Regions from separate parts of the Homo sapiens genome. Here regions 1 and 3 are each linked to region 2. Evidence: promoter capture Hi-C in 16 types of primary human blood cells and fetal thymus (Javierre and others, 2016). All regions are on one chromosome and are shown on one strand. The core of a region is centred on a gene start or on the middle of the fragment in contact, and the rest is flanking DNA. Distances in the headings are between cores, read along the strand shown. Region 1 overlaps PIP4P2 (phosphatidylinositol-4,5-bisphosphate 4-phosphatase 2). Region 2 holds the start of DECR1 (2,4-dienoyl-CoA reductase 1). Region 3 overlaps PIP4P2 (phosphatidylinositol-4,5-bisphosphate 4-phosphatase 2).

Evidence for each region. Contacts are between HindIII fragments. The CHiCAGO score rates a contact against its expected background, and 5 or more counts as called.
Region 1: a fragment that was not itself captured here is called in contact with the fragment with the promoter of DECR1 in region 2 in 2 of 17 cell types (neutrophils and total CD4 T cells); the score reaches 7.6 in neutrophils.
Region 3: a fragment that was not itself captured here is called in contact with the fragment with the promoter of DECR1 in region 2 in 3 of 17 cell types (neutrophils, M2 macrophages and monocytes); the score reaches 9.9 in neutrophils.

What each region holds. Positions count from the first base shown.
Region 1 is chr8:91,000,570-91,004,469 of GRCh38, forward strand. All of the region lies in intron 5 of PIP4P2 (phosphatidylinositol-4,5-bisphosphate 4-phosphatase 2), which reads right to left. Among named protein-coding and RNA genes, the nearest start is that of C8orf88, 17 kb to the left of the region's middle. The HindIII fragment of the contact is 7,791 bases long and covers 1-3,900 here.
Region 2 is chr8:89,999,785-90,003,939 of GRCh38, forward strand. DECR1 (2,4-dienoyl-CoA reductase 1) reads left to right here and starts at 1,693. Exons shown (of 10, transcript NM_001359.2): 1 at 1,693-1,777. The coding sequence starts at 1,709. RefSeq lists enhancers at 1,037-1,331, 2,180-2,319 and a silencer at 1,610-1,709. The HindIII fragment of the contact is 6,361 bases long and covers 1-4,155 here.
Region 3 is chr8:91,021,486-91,025,562 of GRCh38, forward strand. The region is part of intron 1 of PIP4P2 (phosphatidylinositol-4,5-bisphosphate 4-phosphatase 2); the gene reads right to left. Among named protein-coding and RNA genes, the nearest start is that of PIP4P2, 17 kb to the right of the region's middle. The HindIII fragment of the contact is 3,484 bases long and covers 1-3,297 here.

The DNA.
Region 1 (3,900 bases), core at 294-2,793, 1.0 Mb after region 2:
GTATTTTAAAACTTGTTTTCTGGCTTCTATTTTTGCTGTTGAGACATTTGCTGACAGAACTGTTATCTTTTTCTTATTGAAAATATGCCTTTTGTCTCTCTGCTTTTAATTACCTTCTATTTCTCTTAGGTTTTCTACAATTTCACTGTAACACATTTACTTATCCTGCTTGGATTTCATTGTTCTTTTTGAATATAAAAATTCATATCTTTCATAGATCTGAAAATTATTTGAGATTATCTCCTAAAATGCCATATCCCATTCTTTATTTGTTCCTTCCAGATCAGATATATAATTGGCATCTTAATAATATATTTTCTCTTAATCTTACATTCATCTTTGTCTCTCTATGCTAGATTCTGGGTAATTCACTTACCTCTATCTTCCAATTCACAACTTTAGTCTTCACCTTTAGCTGATCTGTTCTTTAAACCGTACGTGCATTTTAATTTCTGTAATAATTTCTAGAAGTTCTATTGTTTCTTTCTATATCTATCTGGTTATTTTTTGCAAATTTCTATTTGAGACAATTATAGATTCACAAGCAGTTGTAATAAATAACACATAAAAATACCATGTACGTTTTGCCCTATTTCCCCCATAGTAAATCTTGCAAATTATAATACAATATTATAAACAGGATATTAACATTCATATAATCCACCAATATTCAGATTTCTCAGGTATATGAGTATGGATTTTTCTTTAATTTTATGCAATTTTATCACGTTTAGGTTCATGTATCTATTGCCACAGCTAAAATAGAGAACAGTCTATCACTGTAAGGATCCTTTTATAACCACACCCTCCTTTCTGCCCATCCCGCACCCTGTGCCTGCCACACCATCATTAATCTGTTCCCTATTTCTACAATTTTGTCATTTGAAAAATGTTACATAAATGAAATCTTACTGCAGGTAACCTTGTATGGCTAAGTTTTTTTTTTTACTCAGCATAAATTCAATTCATCCAAGCTGTTGCATGTGTCAAATTTGCTACAAACACTCACATATACATTTCTGTGAGTACCTGGTAATTTTTAAATAGTCTTACATGTTTTCTCTTATTTTTATTTTAAAACATCTTAGGCATAGTTTTAACATACTCCATATTTAATAATTATAAATCTGAAGTTTTTAGAGGTCTAATTATGCTGTTTGTTGTCAATGTTGATTATGCTTCTGGAATCTTGTTTTCTCCTATGACTAGTAACTTTTGTTGAAAACTTATTTTGGCAGATCTCAATATAAAAAAATTTTGGCATGCATAGTTTGGGGGTGCTTTCCTACATACAGAACTTTCATTTGCTTTTCGCAGGCTCCCTAGACTGATACTAACCCTAAACTTTAAGTCAGTTTCTGGAACTAGGTTTTCCTAGATCGCATAAGTGATATAAAAATATAAACCTAAATTCACTGTTCTTATAAATTTTTTCCTCTGCAATCTTCCTTTTCTGGTTGATTTCTTTTTCCTAACTCACTCTTTTCCAGGGGAAGAGTACTTTAAGTACTTTATTGGGAGGAGGCAGTATTCTAACCCCGCTACCTTGTGTGAGGCCAATGCCTTCTCTCTCATTCTTCCAAGGCTGTAGATCCCTAGTGTTGGCATATACCTTCAGGATAGTCCTGGTTGTCACTTAATCTTCATTTTTGGTCCCCAACTGTCATATGAGCTGAGCTATGCATTTAAAAGGATGATTTTTACAGCTAATTGGTTTTTTATATTACTGCATGTGAAAGTCAAGGGCATATACAAAAATGTGGACAGTGAATCTCCAAGCTGAAAAGACCATTCAATGCTCTCAAACATCTAACTATTCACTCTTCAAATTATTAATCTTTCGCTTCACAAAAACACCTTATGAAACACTAGGATTATGAAGAACACCTGGAAAATGGTAGTGTAGCTAGTGCTACAGGAATTTATAAGGGGAAAAGGCGGCAAACAATGTTCTTTACATTACAATTTTCAGACAAGGCAGCCAGGGATGGCTTTATTACACAAGACTTAAGGATAGCTTAAAATGTGAATAGATGGGGGAGTAAGTCATTTCAGCTGATTACATTAGAATTGTTCAGGTGTGAAAAGAAAATTTGTTCAAGGAATAAGCAGCAGAATAACCTTTGTGCCACAGAATGTTTCTACAGATGAAGAGTAGAAGCAAGGGATGTTTCAGCTAATTTTTTAGGTTAAATAGGTGTTTTCTAGGTAGACAAGGGCAAGGAAAGGAGTAGCCAGGCCATTCTAGGTCTAGCAGGATAAGACTCAGGAACAGAAGAAAGAAACTGCATAATATGTTTGTGGAAGTAGAAGTGCAATTTGTTGGGGCTAGGAAATAACTAGGTTGTGTGTGTAGAGACAGAAGAAAACAAAGATATCCCTAGAAAAGTTAGGCAAAGACTAAAAGAAGTTTGGAGTTTGATTTTGGATTTTAGGCAATGGGCTGATAGTAAACCATATGGTACATTTATGCCAATAAGTAAAAGAAGTCCTCAGAATAATTTATATGAAACTAAATATACAAACCTAAAATAACAATGGAAATTGTACCTCTTCGGGTTGTGCAGCATACAACTTGCACAACTGTATGCCATGGCTAAGAAATTGGGAGCCACTAAAAGATTTGATGCCAGAGAATCTAAAATGACGTATGCATTTAGGAACTACCACTCTAGTAAATGAATAGATAATTGCAGTATTGGAGGTCAAGAGATAAATTAGAAAACCAATGCAATAGTCCTGGTGAGAGATGCTGAATACATGAACTGAAGTAGAAATCATGAGAATAAGAGGACAGAATTAAAATGTCAAGGGACATAATTGATAGGATATTACCATTTAAATATGGAGAATGATAAAAAATACACTAATATTTCTTGGTTGGTCAGTTGGACAGACAGGATAACATTCATTAAAATAATATATTCTTTTTCTAGAAATAATGTAGGGGGTGAAAAAGAAAAACATAATATATTTATCAATACACATGGGAGATTGGTTTGCAGAGTAAGGTGGGAATGCTGGGTCAGGTTGTGCTTGAAATGACCATGAGATATCAAGTTGAAATAATTCTAGGCTAGATAGTGAATAGAGATAGTATATTTAAATCTGAAGCTCCAAAGAAATATCTGGGGTCATTTAATGGCATCTAAATGACATAGGAACATAAGAGAAAACCCGGATAAAGTGCGGTCAAGTTCCAACTTTGGAAAATAGCAAAATTTAACAACTTGGAAGAGAAAGTAAAGCCAACAAAGAAGAGTTGTGAGAAGTAGGAGAAACCCAGGAGAAAGCAGTATCTGGAAACCAAGAAAACAAACTTTAAGGAAAAGAAACCATTGTATTAGTCAGGGTTCTCCAGAAAGCCAGAACCAACAGGAGATAGATAGATAGATAGATAGATAGATAGATAGATAGATAGATAGATAGATAGATAGATAGATGAAATAGATAAGAGGCAATTTATCAAGGAAATTGGCTACTGTGATTATAGAGGCTGAGAAGTCTTGCAACAGGGGATCTGTAAGAGTCCCTGGACTGTTGGCAGTGTGGCTCAGTCTAAGTCCAAAAGCCTCAGAATCAGGGAAGCCAATGGCGTAATTCTCAGTCTGAGGAGGAAGGTCTGCGGAGCTGAGGGACCACTGGTGTACGTCCCAGAGTCCAAAGGTCAGAGGGCCTGGAGTTCTGATGTTCAAGGGCAGGAAAAGAGTGTCCAAGTTCCAGAAGAGTGAAAATTGCCTTTCCACTGCTTTTTTTTTTTCTATTGGGCCCCCAGCGAATTGGATGGTGTCCACTCACATTGAGGGCAGATCTTCTCCATTCAGTCCACTGTCTCCTCTAGAAACACCCTCTCACACATATCCAGAAGTAATGCTTTACCATTTCTTTAGACATTCCTTA
Region 2 (4,155 bases), core at 443-2,942:
TCCCCGTGATCCAATCACCTCCTACCAGGCCCCAATTCCAACACTGGAGATTACAATTCAACATGAGATTTGGGTAGGGACACAAATCCAAACCGTATCACTAATGTTGCAACTTCTTTTTAGAAACAAGATGAATCCCACTTACAATTTGGTTTGGAAGTCAAGAATAACAGTGCCATACATATATCAAGAGCTTAGGAAAAGTTTTATTATTGATATATTCTCAAGGTTTTTTTGGGAGGACAGAAAATGCCTCCTAAGCTGGTCTAAAAGTTATTTAAGAGGGCAAGTGTTCTGGGCTGAATTGTGTACTTCCCTCTTCTCCCAGCCAAATATATACATTGAACTCTTAACCCCCAGTATGTCAGAATGTGGCTATATTTGGAGATAGAGTCTTTAGGGAGGTAATTCCAGTTAAATTAGGTCATTGAGGGTGGGCCTTAATCCAACACGACTGGTGTCCTCATAAGAAGAGGCAATTTAGATATGGAAAGGTACACAGGAGGATCATGTAAAGACACAGGGAGAAGATGGTCCCACAGTGGCTCCACAAGAAACCAACTCTGCTGACTTGTGGCCTCCAGAATTGTGAGAAAACAAATTTCCATTTAAGCCACCCAATCTGTGGTAGTTTTGTTCCTGGACCAAACTGAGGGTCAGGCTGCTATTTCTTGCTGCCAATAATGAGATGTCGATGAACTGGGGATGAAGAAAGTTTTTATTTCTGTAACCAGTTACAGGCAGAAGGCCTGGAAATTATCACCAGACCAACTCAAAATTACAAAGTTTTTCAGAGTTTATATACCTTATAAGCTATATGTCTACATGTAAGTGTACATTCCTCTGAAGATATAAATGTTTCTTTATCAGCATTTGGAACATGCCAGGCAAATAGTAAACACTCAATATCATCTACCATCAGCCTCAGCCTGGGGCCTCACACCCATCTTCTTTTATCTAAAATTCTGAATTAGCTATGAATATTCTCATTTTACGAATGAGGAAAGAAATGTGATCTGAGCTAATGCCTTGTGTCAACAGGTATATTACACTAAGATGGAGAATGATATACTGAATCTGTGTTTGCCTTTAACGTGTGTTTAACTTCGAGAAAAAAGCCAAGGCTGGGCGGTCGCAGTCACGCTGCATCCGGCGACAGGGGGCGGTGTGTCCTGCGAAAAGTCAAAACGCCGGAAGCTGCCCTTAGTGTTTTTCAGCCTCTTGGTCTTAGGGAAAGTGAGGCCGTGTTTTACATCCAACATATTATTATTCTGATAATATGTGACTTGGCGCCACGCGCACTCTGCACTTAAACACGCACTTAAGGGATAAACACATACGACTGAAAAAGAGTTTCGCCCTTGATAGGCAGTGTATGGGGTGCGCAGCTGCAATCTGCAAACCCTTGCAGGGCGCGGGGTTTCGTACACCCGCTCAAGGACGCAAAGAACCTCCATTCTCTGCCATACAAAGCACTCCTGGCCCAGAGAGCAGGAAAGAGCATCAGCTAGGCCCAGCTAGGCGGCGCCCTCGGCCGGACTCTGAAGGTCAGGGCCGCTGGGCGTCCACGCCGCCTGGGTCCCAGTCCCCGTCCCATCCCCCGGCGGCCTAGGCAGCGTTTCCAGCCCCGAGAACTTTGTTCTTTTTGTCCCGCCCCCTGCGCCCAACCGCCTGCGCCGCCTTCCGGCCCGAGTTCTGGAGACTCAACATGAAGCTACCGGCCAGGGTTTTCTTTACTCTGGGGTCCCGGCTGCCCTGTGGCCTCGCTCCTCGGAGGGTAAGGCGGCCGGGGGCGCGGGGAGCGAGGACAGGGCGTCTCGACGCGCAAAGAGAGAGGACAGGGCGTCACGGGGGCTCGGGGAGCGAGGACAAGGCATCCTGGGGCGCAAAGAGAGAGGACAGGGCGTCCCGGGGGTTCGGGGAGCGAGGACAGGGCATCCCGAGGCGCAGAGAGAGAGAGGACAGGGCGTCCCGGGGCCTCGGGGAGCGAGGACAGGGTGTCCCGGGGCTCAAAGAGAGAGGACAGGGCGTTCTGGAGCGCTAAGAGAGCACAGAGCAACCCGGGGAGCGAGAGAGAGGACAGGACGTCTCGGGGCGCAAGAGAAAGGGCAGGAAGTCTTGGGGCACAAAGAGAGGACCCGGCGTCCCTGGGGCTCAGGGAGCTAGGACAGGGCGTTTTGGGGCGCAGAGAGAGAGGACCACCAGGTCCCGGAGCGAAGGGCAACGCCGGGAGTGAGCACCGGGGCCCGGGTCGTATTCCACTGTCAGATGAAGCCCTGATGTGTGTAGGGGAATAGGGAAGAGACGTGATTTTCGAAGTTTTCACAGTTCTGCAAGTTTCCAACTTGTGTGTAAATAGGTAGAAAGAGGTAGGGAAGGATACGGCGCCCGTCCACCCCTTAAGGAGTGAGAGGGGATCAGGCCGAGCGAGCACTGACCTTTGACGTCCTTTGTTGTGAGGAAAGTCCATCTATGTGTTAGTTATGGAATTAAACACTAATACAAACAAATTATCATAAAAATGAAACAAAAACAAAACCCCAGCTGTTTATAGACTCCCCTTCCCAGATGTATAGCTGGGAGAGGTCCGTCTCACACTGGCTTCCCCCTCTCTCTGGCCCACACTCCTGTCACCATCTCCATTGCACCCATAGTGGAAATAGCTAGGAAGTGAAAACAGCTAGGAAGAAGAAAGAGAAACAAAAACAAAAAGAAGCAATAATATCCAAGACAAGCCCTCCCCACATCTAAATTACAAAATTGTTATAAGTAAACTAAAAAGCACATTTTCTTTAGCCAGGTAGAAAAATTAATATGTCAACTGTGAAAAAACTTCTTTTGATTTGATAGAATAGACAGCCATGGTGTTGTTTTTCAAAAAATATGGGCAGCAGTAGTTCCAAATAGGAATACAAAGAATTAGTATGGTGGTTCCCTCAAGTAAGGTATCTTTCTTTTAAAAAGTGAGATTTGTTCAGGGTTAGGGTTTTGCTGATTTTTTTTCTCTCCCTGTGAAAACTGGGTTATAGATCATTATAAAGGAAGCCCATATTTTCTGATACTTTTCAGAGACATTTCTCATTTGAAATCTACAACAGCTCTGTGATGTCTTCAGAGATTTCATTTTTTAACACACATCATTAGGATTGTAGCAATAAGGTCATACAGACCTTATCCAAGCTCTTCTGACACCATTAGACAATACAGTTTGAGAAGGAGAAAATGAACTCATTTAAAAATTAATTGTAATCTGACAATTTTGAAATTCCTTTGCTGAAGAAAAATATGGAAGTTTTGAGGTTCAGGGTTGGGAGGCAAGAGAGGTACCTGTTAGTGTGGTTTGTCCCCTTCCTAGCACATGTAGCCTCAAGTTTGAATTCCTGGGAGAAGAAAAGTCTTTACATCTGTGATGTGGGAGGTTGTTCCAGGGAACATCATGTTTTTGTGGGCAAATACAAGTTGTTATAATTAAAACCCCTAATTTGAATATTTTTGTTACCAAGAACCAAGGCAAATGTTTAATTTGTTATAAAACCTGTTTGTGAAGTGCTGTGTTAAATTGTGCTGCTGGCTAATAGGCCTCATTTCAATTTAATAAATATTTATTGAGGACTGGCTTTATGTCTGGCCCTGTGCTATGCCCTGGGACTCAAAATTTAAAAAATACGAGCCCTGCTCTCAACTGTTCTCAAGTTGCTCTCAGTTCTATTGAGGAAAACATTCAGTCATTCAGTTGTTTATGAGGAAACACTAATTAATTAAGTACCTATTAAGTATTGGGCATTCTTTGGCAATTTGTGGTTGAAAGACATTCCTGCCTTCAATGTACTATAGTCTCATATATGTATTTTAAGCCACAAATAATAACCAATGAGTAGGCCTTGAAATCAATTTAGTGGAGCAAAACAGCACTTTGGGAGGCTGAGGCGGGTGGATCATTAGATCAAGAGATCAAGACTATCCTGGCCAACATGGTGAAACCCTGTCTCTAGTAAAAATACAAAAATTACTGGGTGTGGTTTCACACGCCTGTAGTCCCAGCTACTTGGGAGGCTGAGGCAGGAGAATCGCTTTAACCTGGGAGGCAGAGGTTGCAGTGAGCTGAGGTCGCGCCACTGTAGTCCAACCTGGCGATAGAGTGAGTGAGACTCCATC
Region 3 (4,077 bases), core at 306-2,805, 1.0 Mb after region 2:
AAGAAACAATCAAGATTTTCCCACGTTCTTTTATTTATTTTTCAAAGCTAGCCAATTTATCTTACTTTTAGAGCACAAACATCCATGAGACTCTTATCAAGTAAAATAATTCTTAACTCTGATAAAATCTAAATCATGTTTGCCTAGGTCTATCCCAATAACCCAGTTTCCTTTTACTAATCTATACTCAAAATGTCACTCCATTCCTATTAGTAAATTCATACAGTCTCTAACAGGAGAGTGGTAATTTATGCCTACAATAAAAATTTTACACAAGTGATCTGATTCCCAGGAAATAAAAATGGTCGATGAAAGCAAAGTTTTAAAATTGCTTATCCATACATATAAATTATGTAGCTGTCATGCTCTGTCTTTATATTGGAACCAGTATAATGACTGCTGGCTATGACAAGAATAAAACAAGGTGTTGGAGGAAGTCAAGAAGAAACAAAAATGAACCTAAGAAAACTAAACTTCTCAGCATGGAACAAAAATGGGAACCATGCTAATTTCAGACACAAAACAAAAATAAAGTAAATATAACAATTTTTAGTCTCAAAATTTACCTACCATTAAAAATGTAAGAAATGCACCAAAGTGTTTATGAGTAAAAAAATGTAGTATGTGGGATTAAAAACTTCAAAAACCATAACAACAACCACCACAAAAAGAATGGGGAACCAGATGAAACAAGTAGCAAAATGTTGATAACTGATGAATATAATGACATGGAAGGTCATAGTTTCACACTACTTTTGTGTATGTTTGAAAATTCCCATAATACAAAGACACACACACAGTGTTTTTTTTGAGAGTCCTAAGGTTGACTCAGTGAGTGAGTGAAGGGTGGAGGCCCACTTTCAAAATCAAGTATCTACCAGAAGTGTATATTTGTTACAAAAGTCTGAGAAAAGGAATCCTGATATACTACTCTGGAATGGGATTTCTAAAGGAGACTGCCTAACCCCTTTCTGTAACTATCTCAACTACAGGAATAGAAGACTTTTCCAAGGTAAAGTTTTGTCTTGGGACATTTAGAAAGGGCCACACTCTAACATATGATTGAAGCACGAAAGAGAACTGGTATCTCAAGAGGCTTCTGTAACACTATAAAATATAATCACAATAGCTAAGCATAATAAGAGCTATTTTTGAAATAAAGGTTTTCTATCCACTGTATTAGGTCCTAAACTTTGTGATATTTTAAAAAGAATTAGAGCATAAAACATTTTGGTATGTTTAAAATACACATATTTCTACCTGATCCTTGGGTTATAATATAGGATTTTTTTCAGACTGCTAAGGATTAGCAACAAGTGGTATTCGTTCAAATGATTCATAAGACAAATTTCTGCAGCAGCCAAGGCTCTGAAAGAGGCCACTTTGAAATGACGATATGCTTATGTTTCTGGGAGGCTTATAACAGAACACTGCCAAACACTGAAATTCAAAAGAAGCTGTACATGTCTTAAATTATAAAAATAATTTTAAATCCATGAAAAGAATTTGAGCGTGATCCAGAGTGACCTGTAATGTATTAATCAAGAAGAAAAAAACATGTTAAAGAAACAATGAGTCAACAATATACTTAAGGTCTTGCAATTTGCAGATTACTTTGTCAGATCTCAATAAAGACATTATTCTTGGGGAAAGAATATGTACCTCACTAGAAATTCAAGACACACTGCCTGGTATATGATAATGAATATTATTTTAATAATTATTTGCAGTAGCATTATTAACAAAAGTTGCTTCCTCTCTGGCCTTTTCCTTGAGTTGTACAGTAACATTACATAGTTCTCTCGTAATCCCAGGTCTCTATCTTACACAGTATGATAGAAAGGAAACTTAAATGCAAGACAGTTTTATAAAGAAAACAAGGGCATTAGGGGGAGAGGAGGAAGTGACATATTGCTACACTACATAAAAGGACACCAACCCATACACTCCTCAGCTTTGCTCAAAGAAATCTCCTAAGAAAATTTCAGAGGGTGATCTTAACAATCATTAAAAGGGCATTAGAGCCAGTAAAACCCTGTGAATTTTTCTTCTAAGATTTGTACTATATAATTTTTAATCTGCCAAAAAAAAAACGCCTTCAATGACAGAAATATGCTCAAATCTACTCTTTTGGAGGCTTGGGAAGTGGAGGGACATGGACAGAACAAGCAGTGAAGATTATAAATCTAATATAAGAGAGACCATAAGCTCCACGAGGCCAGGGGCACATCTGGTTTGTCCACAGCTACTTCACCAGCGCTTGTCATAATGCCTGGTCTATGATGATGCTTACTAAATGTTTATTCAATGGTTGAATTAATTAATAAATCAGCGAGTCACTAAAATTTATTAGACATATCTATTTGTCTTGGAAAAATAACACCAAGTATTAGGTTGCTGCAAAAGTAACTGCGGTTTTTGCTACGACTTTCAAATAGCAAAAACCGCAATTACTTTTGCACCAACCTAATACATTAACCCTACTCTCCTTGCAGAGGAGCTAAGGTTCTAGCAGGGGAGTGCAGCTTGATGGAAAACAAGGGCTTCTTTTATATAGAAGACAACTCTCTCCAAATAATGCACTGAGAGAGGTGAAGTAGTCAGGGGACACTGGCCTGGCCCACCAGATAAATGGAATCAATCCAAGAGATCAATAGAATGACAGATGCTGCAGCCTAATTGCCACAATAAACAGTGCTTCCTGGCCTTTCATTTCAATGTTCTATCCATTACTTCAGCCTTAAACTGATTTAGACAGATTATTTCTTGTACTTTTGGCCTTTCCCTTTCTCTCAGATTTTACCTCAAGGAAACATTTACTTGTAGCTCCATCTCCTCTTATATGGGACTTGTAATTCTGGAGATTCCACAGTTAGTAAACCTACAATAATTAGAATAAGATTATTAATTTAAATGATTAATAATTGGATTATTATAGATTAAACCTATAATAATTAAATTAACTTAGATTTATTCATTTTGTCTCTTTTCACTTTGGCATAATCATAGCTCAATACAGTCTTGAACTCCTGGGCTTAAGTGATCTTCTCACCTCAGCTTCCTCGGTAGCTGGGAATACAGGCATGCACCACCATGCCTATATTTTCACTTTAAAACAACCGATCACCAGTATCCTACCTATTTTAAATTTCTGCACTACATTTAAAAAGTCCACTGTAATCTCAGAACTTAGGATCATTAGATGTTGAAAGTCACAAAAATTCCTCATTTTGGAAAAGTCTTACTTGTTATCTAAACAATGGTCATTTTTCTCCATGGGGTTTTTCTAAATTAAAAAGCTTTTTTCCTCCATGTGAGCAGTATTTGTTAGGCCAGTAGTCCTTAATCCTAAAAAAAAACTCCCTCAAAGCTCCAGAATAGAACAATGTTAGAAATTCAAACAATCTTTGGAATTATGAAGTCTAATTTCTTTATTTTACAAAGGAGAAAACAAACCCAGAAATTCTGACTTTTTAAGGGTTATACACAACTTCAGCAAAGCCAAGAGCTGACTCCTGTTCTGGAGATCGCTCCACAATAACAGCTGTCTCCTTTAATAAATAATGACTTAATACAGGGAAAATATTTAAGGACCAATGGGGGGATTTTTCTAGGAACAAGCAAACATCTGATAATGTAGATTTCTGGAGAATGAAATCTTGGTTAAAGAGAATTAAGAGGAAGAGGAGAAGGAAGAATCGGGGTGGGGGGGAATTAGAATATATTTTAAAAAGAAGAATCATTTCACAGTAAAAACTTCAGAGAAAAACGGACTCATAAAAGGGAGAGAATGATAGTTTATGGATCACAAGGCATACATAATGATCTTTCTAAAACACTCAAAAGGAAGCATTATATCCTGTAAACCCACAAGTGATCAGATTACATTTCTCATCACATTTACCTAATTTATCTATTTTATGCCAAACAGCCCCTCTGTCTTGCTAATTCATCCTGGTGTATTAATCCATATTTCATCTTTTCTCAGATATATCCTCCAGTATTTTAAAGATTTAAATTGTTTTGTTGGATTGCTCTGACCTTTATTATCTCAATTATTCCTTTATACGTCTCCTC